3 separate regions of the Homo sapiens genome follow, and all the other regions are linked to region 1. Evidence: promoter capture Hi-C in 16 types of primary human blood cells and fetal thymus (Javierre and others, 2016). All regions are on one chromosome and are shown on one strand. The core of a region is centred on a gene start or on the middle of the fragment in contact, and the rest is flanking DNA. Distances in the headings are between cores, read along the strand shown.

The links. Contacts are between HindIII fragments. The CHiCAGO score rates a contact against its expected background, and 5 or more counts as called.
Region 2: a fragment that was not itself captured here is called in contact with the fragment with the promoter of GPX3 in region 1 in 1 of 17 cell types (M2 macrophages); the score reaches 5.7 in M2 macrophages.
Region 3: a contact is called between a fragment that was not itself captured here and the fragment with the promoter of GPX3 in region 1, in 1 of 17 cell types (neutrophils). The highest score is 5.2, in neutrophils.

Annotation. Positions count from the first base shown.
Region 1 is chr5:151,018,810-151,021,881 of GRCh38, reverse strand. GPX3 (glutathione peroxidase 3) reads right to left here and starts at 1,291. Exons shown (of 5, transcript NM_002084.5): 1 at 1,141-1,291. The coding sequence starts at 1,227. The HindIII fragment of the contact is 15,890 bases long and covers 1-3,072 here.
Region 2 is chr5:151,160,630-151,163,758 of GRCh38, reverse strand. No RefSeq gene overlaps it. Among named protein-coding and RNA genes, the nearest start is that of ANXA6, 4.4 kb to the right of the region's middle. The HindIII fragment of the contact is 7,646 bases long and covers 1-3,129 here.
Region 3 is chr5:151,259,694-151,262,711 of GRCh38, reverse strand. It overlaps GM2A (ganglioside GM2 activator), which reads right to left. Exons shown (of 4, transcript NM_000405.5): 2 at 2,796-2,957. Among named protein-coding and RNA genes, the nearest start is that of GM2A, 8.0 kb to the right of the region's middle. The HindIII fragment of the contact is 6,835 bases long and covers 1-3,018 here.

The DNA of each region.
Region 1 (3,072 bases), core at 42-2,541:
AGAAACAAAAGCTCAGAGCTTGCAAAAATGTGAGTTATGCATGTTGGGAAGTTGGAGACAGAAATCGCTCGCTTTGAGTCTATCCCTACACCTGGCTTCTGCCTCCTTCCCCACCCACTCCCACTCCCTGGGTAGAGGAGAGGTCTACAGAGCCCACCCCAGTACATACTGTCAAAGGAGATAAGCATGCTGGGTCATCCCACTCCTGGCCTCAGTATCCCCACTCCAGGTGTGGGCCACACACCTGCTGGAAATAGACTGAGGCTCTAGAGAATTCTACCTCTTCTTCTGAATTAGCAGTCCCCAGCTTTCTCCAACTACCAGGTTTCCTCAGGCTAATGAGGACAGTGGGTCCTGGGTAGTGAGGCTGCCCCAGGGGAGGAAATTTCAGAGAACAGCTTGTGGATTTTTCAGCTTCTCCAAGCATCCCCTCTGAGGCCCTCAGCTTCATTGTGCCCCATGCACTCCCACCCCCAAACTCTCCCCTGCAGATGGAGAAACGGGGGTCCAGGAGCAGGTAAGGACTCAGGGTCCTGAGTGTTCTGCACTGTCACTCCAGAGCTCTTTCTAGCACAGATCTCTGCCTCTTCTACCAATGCCCTGAATCCAAGTGGCCATTTCTACCTGCCTGTATCATTCTTGGGGTAGAAGAGCCCCCCACAGCAGTTCTTCAGGACCAGGACCACCCAGCTGCCTCTCTCCTTTCTCCTTGTCTCTCTCCCTGGGAACTTGCACAGCCCACCCAGACGCTGGGCATTTTTTTCTGTGACGCCCTCCCTCTTAGGCCCTACTGAAGGGGAGCAGCTCAGGCACGGAGGTGACATAGATGTAGCAAGGCGACCCTCGAGGTGGCAGTGGGGAGAAAGTGCGAGCTCGGGGAGAGAGACCTTCCTCCCTTAGTCATTCTGCCCGCCTGAAGCACCAGGTCTCGGCTCTCCAACAGATGGAACTACGAGACGACGACGGTCGGGGGCGGGGTCCCGGCGGCGGAGGGGGCGGCAAAAGGGGTTCAGGAGGTCTCTCGCACCTGGGGATTGCCCATCTGGCGGGGAGCCTGGGAAAAGGGGTGCATTGCACTGAGCGCTGGACACCGAGGGGCTAGGTTTTTTCTCCCGGCCCCCGGCCCGGAGGCTCACTCACCTTCGACTTCTCTTGTCCCCGGCTCTGCGAGACGAAGCCGGCCAGGAGCAGGGAAAGCAGGCAGGACGCCTGCAGCAGCCGGGCCATGGCGGGGTGGGGGCACACTCAGGGTCGCCTGAGCCGCTGCCTGATCCCTGGCCACCGTCCGTCTGAGGTGTCCGGCGCTCCCAGCCACCTTTCAAGCCCTCGGGTGTGACCAATCCGCGGCCAAGCCGAGACCCTTGCAGCCAATCGCTAGGCGGCTGGGATTTCAGGGGCGGGCGCGACTTGCCCTCAGCTCCCCACCTCCCCGTCCCGGGGCGACAGTGACATAAGCAAATCTGGGCAGAGAGGTGGAAGTCAGGTCCCTGTGGACGTGGGAGGCGGTCCCTTCCTCTTTTGGCTCCAAAGTGCGAAAGGAGGCAGACACAGCGGTCTCCATTACAGCCAGGGCAAGGGGGCTAATAGCTCCCTAGAACTGATGGAAGTCTCCATTCTGGGAAGCATTTCTTATTCCTATCGAGGTTTTAAAAACACCTGGCGATGGTCCTCTGGAAATTGAGGGTTTAAAATTTCAGCAAGAGCTGAAGTTAAACTTCCAGAAACATTTACTATATATAGGTTTAGTGCTTAAGAAACAAAGAGTGGGTGTCCTGGGATTTTGAAAACCCCATTCTGGGTAGGGCATTAGGACTGTAGGGACAGAGAAGGTGGGGTGCCTTTCCTCCCCATCATAAGGATCACAGCTGACATGCCTGTAGAAAAAGGTTAGCAAGAGAAAAGCATAACGATTTATTTAATTAAAGTTTTCTGTGACATGAGAGTCTTCAGAAATGAAGACCCAAAGACTCAAGGAAAACTCTATTTTTAGGCTTAGATTCTATGAAGACCATGGAAATGCGCAGAAATGTGAGTGGGGAAAAAGGGAATGGTCTAATAGTAATAAACTGAGTGGGAAACCCAGCAAGGCTTGTCTGTTCGTATTCTTCTTGGCCTATCTGTGGCCAAACCACCTGGCTTAGAAGCAGAAAATAAATTTGCTCCCTGTGTAGTCTTTAACATGTTGCAGTTACTCTCTGGGCCTCAGTTTCCTCAGCTATGTAATGATGGGATTGATTAGTGATCTCCAGTGCCCTTCTGGCTCTGGCTAGATGACTTGTTTCTAAAGTAAGTGACAGACGGAGACCAGGAGTCCTTTGAGAATAGGGCCCATAATCACCACCTGGCACAGGGCCTAGCACACAAGAGATGTAAAGTATTTGCTGACTTAATCATTCATTACATTAAAAAAACAAAATCTCCATGGAACACTTAGGATCAGACCAGGCAGTTCTAGGGCTGGGCTGTCTAGGTATGATCCCGTTCACAGATGGGGAATGTGATGGAATCAGTCTCAAATCTCTCTGACCACCAGAGTCAACTGGGAAGCCTTTAATACAGATTCCTGGACCCCACTTTGGAATCACTGCATTAGAATCTCTAGGGGCAGAAGCTGAAAATCTGTCTTCAGACATGTTCTAAGGTTATTGTGAGGCAGTTGGCCTGGCTGTAGCCTTGGTAGTGTGAGTCCTAGGATTAAGTGCCTTCTGGAACTTTCTTCTGACCAAGAAATGCCTTGAGAAACCATACCTTTACTATGATTAAAGGTATTAACATCCCCCTGGGAATTTGGAAGATGTCTCTCAAGTTTTGCATTCTCTACGAAGTCTTCCCACCTCAAACCACAGCCTGTTGAAGTGGAAGGAACCACAGAGGCCAGGAAGTCTTTAGCTGAGTTAAAGCCTGGGAGCATATGAACAATGGCTGACACACAGTAAGTGCTCAATACGTTTTATTCAACCACCTCATTTCCCTGAAGCCTAGAGATGAGGAGCAATTTATCCAAGTTCCCATAACCAACTGATGGCAGGGAGGGAACCAGAATCCAGGTCTCTAGACTCAGTCTCAGGCCCT
Region 2 (3,129 bases), core at 431-2,930, 140 kb before region 1:
AATTACCACTAAAGAACTTATCCATGTAATGAAAAACTACTTATTCCCCAAAAACCATTGAAATAAAAAACAATTTTAAAAATACAGTGTTGGACAGTGAAACCTCGTCTCTACCAAAAAATGAAAAAAATTAGCTGGACGTGGTGGTGCACACCTGTAGTCCCAGCTACTCCGTAGGCTGAAGCATCAGGATAGCTTGAGCCCAGGAGGTTGAGGCCGAAGTGAGCTGAGATTGTGCTACTGCTCCAGCCTGGGGGACAGAATGAGACCCTGTCTCAAAAAAAAAAAAAGAATGAAAAAAAAAAAGTTGGGCATGGTGGCTCACATTATACCAATGCTGGTGTAATCCCAGCATTTTGGGAGGCTGAGGCAGGAGGATGGCTTGAGCATAGGAGACCAGCCTAGGCAAGATGGTGACACGCCATCTCTACAAAAAATACAAAAATTAGCTGGGCAGGTGGCATACACCTGTAGTCTCAGCTACTTGGGAGGCTGAGGTGAGGGGATCACCTGATCCTGGGGAGGTCAAGGCTGCAGTTGAGCCATGATCACACCACTGCAGTCCAGCCTGAGTGACAGAGTGAGACCCTGTCTCCAACAACAACAATAAAACAGTGTTGGGCCTACAGCTTCCTCTGTATTTTAGATTATTTTCTTAGGATTGATTCCTGTAAGTGATGATTAGCTCAAAGAGAATGAGCAGTATATTAGTGTTTACTCCTACTTGCTGCTGTAGCTCAGGAATTAAGGCCCTGGGCTCTGCAGTCAAGGGAATCTGGCTTTCAATCCTGCCTCAGTCACGTGGGCTGAATTTGGGCAAAGATCAAAAATTTCAGTTACTTTTATTGCAAATTAAGAATACAAATAGCCCTGACATTTGTACACTACAGCCCATTCTGTCTCCAAACATTGCTGCAGGAATTCTCCCTTCTCTCTCCTCCATCAATTTTTTTACCTTCTATATGATAACTCCCACCAGCATACAAATATGCTGTTATGTCTTCAATCTTTAAAAAAATCAAACAAAAGCCCTTCTCTTGACACCAATTCCCTTGCCAGACACTGCCTCATTCCCTTGCTGGCCTTCGCAGCAAAACTCCCAGAATAAGTAGTTTAGGCTTTTTATCTTACACCGTTCCCATCAGGCCTTTACCCCCAACATTCTGCAATTCACAGCAAGAGATAAGTTGGCTTTCACATTGCTAAACCCAATGATAGATTTGTAGACCTTGTCCTACTTTACCTAAAAGCAGCATTTGACACACCTGATCACTCCCTTATTTTTCACTTTGCTGCCACATTCTCCTGGGGTAGTTTCCTCCCATCTTACTACAATCTCCTTCCCAGTCACCTTTGCTGAATTCTTTTCTTCTCCCCAACTCTTTTATTTTATTTTTTGAGAGTCTCACTCTGTCTCTCAGGCTGGAGTGCAATGGTGCCATCTCACTGCAATCTCCACCTCCTGGGAGTGATTCTCCTGCCTCAGCCTCCCAAGTAGCTGGGATTACAGCATGCACCACCACGTCCAGCTAACTTTTTGTATTTTTAGTAGAGATGGGGTTTAACTATGTTGGTCAGGCTGGTCTTGAACTCCTGGCCTCAAGTGATCCACCCACCTCAGCCTCCCAAAGTGCTGGAATTACAGGCATGAGCCACCGGGTCCGGCCTCTCCCCAAATGGTAACATAAGAGTGTCTCAGACTCGGTCCTTAGCATCGTGGGTGATCAGCAACTATTTGGGGCTGGCGGTACAGGCAGTAAGAAGAATTTACCAAGGCAGTTGTAGGTAAAGAAAGGCAGATTTATTAGAGAAAGTATGAAAATACATTGCTGCCAGACGTGGTGGCTCATGCCTATAATCCCAGCACTTTGGGAAGCCGAGGTGGATCACGAGGTCAGGAGTTTGAGACCAGCCTGATCAACATGGTGAAAACCCATCTCTACTAAAAATACAAATATTAGCCAGGTGTGGTGGCACGCACCTGTAATCCCAGCTACTCAGGAGCCTAAGGCAGAAGAATCGCTTGAACCCGGGAGGCGGAGGTTGTGGTGAGTCGAGATAGTGCCACTGCACTACAGTCTGGGCGACAGAGTGAGACTTCATCTCAAAAGAAAAACAGAAAAGAAAAGAAAATACGTTGCAAGGGTGCAACGGGCAAGTTAGCAAAACAGAAGCTAACTGCAAGAAAACAAAATCTGGCTAAGGATTTTATAGGATGGTGCTTGTGCTGTGTGCTGAAGAGGGCTTTGTGCAGTACTGATAACATCAAGGGTGCAGGGAGCTTGCGTGCATTTTTCTATCAGGTGAGGGTCTGGCAATAGCTGGGCGCAGATAAGATTGTGAGTTATTCGCACAGGAGGGCTATGCATCCTGGGCCATGAAGAAAGGCAGACTTATAGCTTATCTGCTTTCTCTTTTTGCTTTCCCTTGGTCCTGCCAGCCTGACTCCTTTTGCCGAACTAGGACTCCATATTTAGTTCTCTTCTCCCTTAAGGATCTCATCTCTTGAACTCCAGACTTGACTAGCCAACTGCGTACTTGACATCTCCTGTTGGGTGTCTAATAGAAATGTTCAACAAACTGGTCAAAAACTGAACTCCTGATCTTTTCCCCACTTCTAATTCCCAAAATTGCTTTCCCTGCAGTCTTGCTCATTTCAGTTGATGGTAACTCCATCCTTCCAGTGGCTCAGGCCAGGATCCCTGAAGCCATTCTTGACTCTTTCTCATCTCCCACCTGATCCTTCGGAAATCATGTTCAACCTTCAAATACATCCCATCTCCAACCACTTCCCCCACCTGCATTTATACCAGCCTGTCTCTTGCCTGGATTACTGCAAAATCTCCTAGCAGATCCCCTTCTTCTACTCTTCCCCCAACAGTATTCAGTATTTCCAACACAGGAGACTTCAGTGACCCTTTAAAAAATATGTCTTGGCCAGGTGCGGTGGCTCACACCTGTAATCCCAGCACTTTGGGAGGCCAAGGCAGGTGGATCACCTGAGGTCAGGAGTTCAAGACCAACCTGGCCAACATGATGAATCCCCGTCTCTACTAAAAAAATACAAAAATTAACTGGGCATGGTAGCAGGTGCCTGTAATCCCAGCTATTTGGGAGGCTGAGGCGGAA
Region 3 (3,018 bases), core at 288-2,787, 240 kb before region 1:
GTGTCCATACATAGGGAATGATTCCATCCCTTGGCCCAGATCCAAGGGTACAGGGCTTGACCCCCTATCACTTGAGGAACAGTAATGGAAACACAATGACTCTGCTAGGAAAAGGCTTGGTAGGAGGTGCAGGGGAGCTGAAAGCTGCCACATATCCAGGACTTGTGTCTGGGTCAAGAGACTGCAGGATAAGACAGATACTAATCGAAATGTTCACAAGATATAAAATGTACTGAGCATGTCCTGGGTGCCAGGCCCTGTGCAAAGCACTTTCCACATGATTTTCTAACTCAGGTATTGCTCAAGGAAAGCCCATAACGTAGGAGCTGTGATTAAGACAGGTCTAAGGATAATGATAGAAACACAGAATCCAAATCAGGAATCTTCTAAATAATTAACACAAAACTGGTACTAGAATAGATCTGGATCAGGAACAGACTGAAGGGCATAGAGGAGCATCATATAAAGGTAGCAATTTTAGCTAGAGAGGAAAGGACCATATTAAATGGTGTTGCAATGGATATATGAAAAGTCTTCATTGTTTTCTAAGAAAATATAAAAACATACACCCCTAAAATAGTCAATGGATGGAAACAAACAGGTTATTCCCAAAGTAAATACAAAAGGCAAATAAACTTATGAATAGACATCTACGCTCACTAGGAATGATGCAGGTTTATTCAAACATTGGGAGGCACTTTGGCAAAATGTATCAAAAGACCTAAAAAGTGTGTATCTAGAGAATCAGAAAATTATAAAAAGATGTACTATAAGAATAATTTCTACAAAGGTGGTTACTACAGCAAAACAAAAAACAAACAAACAAAAAAAACCCTCTGGCCAGGTACAGTGGCTCAAGCCTATAATCCCAGCACTTTGGGAGGCTGAGGCAGGTGGATTGCCTGAGGTCAGGAGTTCAAGACCAGCCTGGATAACATGGTGAAACCCCATCTCTACTAAAAATACAAAAAGTAGCTGGGCATGGTGGCAGGTGTCTGTAATCCCAGCACTTTGGGAGGCCGAGGCAGGCACATTGCCTGAGGTCAGGAGTTCAAGACCAGCCTGGCCAACATGGTGAAACCCCATCTCTACTAAAAATACAAAAATTAGTGGGGCGCAATGGCAGGTGCCTGTAATCCCAGCACTTTGGGAGGCTGAGACAGGAGAATCGCTTGAACCCGGGAAGTGGAGGTTGCAGGGAGCTGAGATTGCGCTACTGCACTCCAGCCTAGGCAACAGAGTAAGAACCTGTCTCAAAACAAACAAATAAACAAACAAACAAATAAAAACTACCCTGGAAACAAACTAAATGTTCAACAATAGACTTGTTATATAAATTATGAAAGATCCACATCAGAATATTTCTGCCATTAAAAATGATTGGGTGGGCTGAGCAAGGTGGCTCACGCCTATAATCCCAACATTTTGAGAGTCTGAGGCAGGAGGATTGCTTGAACTCAGGAGTTTGAGACCAGCCTGGGCAACACAGGGAGGCTCCGTCTCCATAAAAAATAAAAAAATTAGGTAAGCATGGTGACATGAACCTGTGGTCCCAGCTACTCAGGAGGCTGAGGTGGGAGGATCCCTTAAGCCCAGGAGGTCAAGGCTGCAGTAAGCCATGATCACACTACTGCACTCCAGCCTGAGCAACAGAGTGACACACTGTCTCTAAAATTACAATACATTAAAATAATAAAATAATGATTGGATAAAAAAAAATTGAATAAGTAGAGCCACCTAATCCTTGGAAAGATATGGACATATAGTATGAGGCAAAAAAAATAGCAAGTATAATAGCACATATCATATAATCCCATGAGTATAAGTGTGTATATATTTACAAACACATAAAAATTCTGATGGGATATATAAAGAGCAAACACTGACTATCTCTAGGATTTAGATTACTGGAGGACATTTACAATGAGCACTGCCTATTATCATACATATCCATTAAAAATAAATATGTGTGTTATGTATGTAATTGTATGGGGGAAAGTTGCAAAGAATATCCTATAAGATGTTAAAAGTGCTTATCCCTTATCACTAGGTAGTGAGATTTCAAGTGATTTATTTTATTTATTTATTTATTTTGGGACAGAGTTTCACTCTGTCACCCAGGCTGGAGTGCAGTGGTGCGATCCTGGCTTTCTGCAACCTCTGCCTCTTGGGTTCCAGCAATTCTCCTACCTCAGCCTCCTGAGTAGCTAGGATTACAGGCACATGCCACCACGCCCAGCTAATTTTTGTACTTTTAGTAGAGATGGGGTTTCACTATGTTGGCCAGGCTGGTCTCAAACTCCTGACCTCAAAAGATCCACCCACCTCAGCCTCCCAAAGTGTTGGGATTACAGGCATGAGCCACCACACCTGGCCTATTTTATTTATTTTTTGACCACTTGTGTTTTCTAAAGTGACTATATATTACTGGCTAATTGGTATATCAATTTTATAATTAACAACAAAACCAAATTGGCCAACCAGAGCTGTCAGACAATAATGAGCAGTTGGCCACCAGGCCCAGAGAAGGCCAGGACGCTTCTGCCAGGTGCAAGGTATCCGTCACTCCTGCCCTCACCAGGAAGTTGCTGGCGCTGACATCAGAGATTCCTTTCAATCTTATGATCCTGAGATTCCATGAACCTGTGAAAGAGTGTCTGAATCTACATGTCCTGTACTATTCTCTGGGAATCCAGGATTCTGAAATTCTTCACAGTTCCCCAAGCATACATGCCCCAGTACCCCTGCTGGCCAGACCCTCGCACCTCCCCTTCTCCACCCACCCCCAGGCTCACCTTCAGAGGAGAACTCAGGGGGACACTGGTGCTGCCCATGACACTGAGGGTCACATTTCCAGGAACGATGATGGGGTCAGGCTCCAGAGTCAGGCTTCTGATCACCGCAGGGTCCTTCCCTTCATCACAGTTATCCCAGGAAAAGCTACTGAGCTGGGATGGCTGGGGACAATCAGGCAGCAAGGAAGGAGAAGAAGAAAAAGGTTGACAAAAGAAACTATCA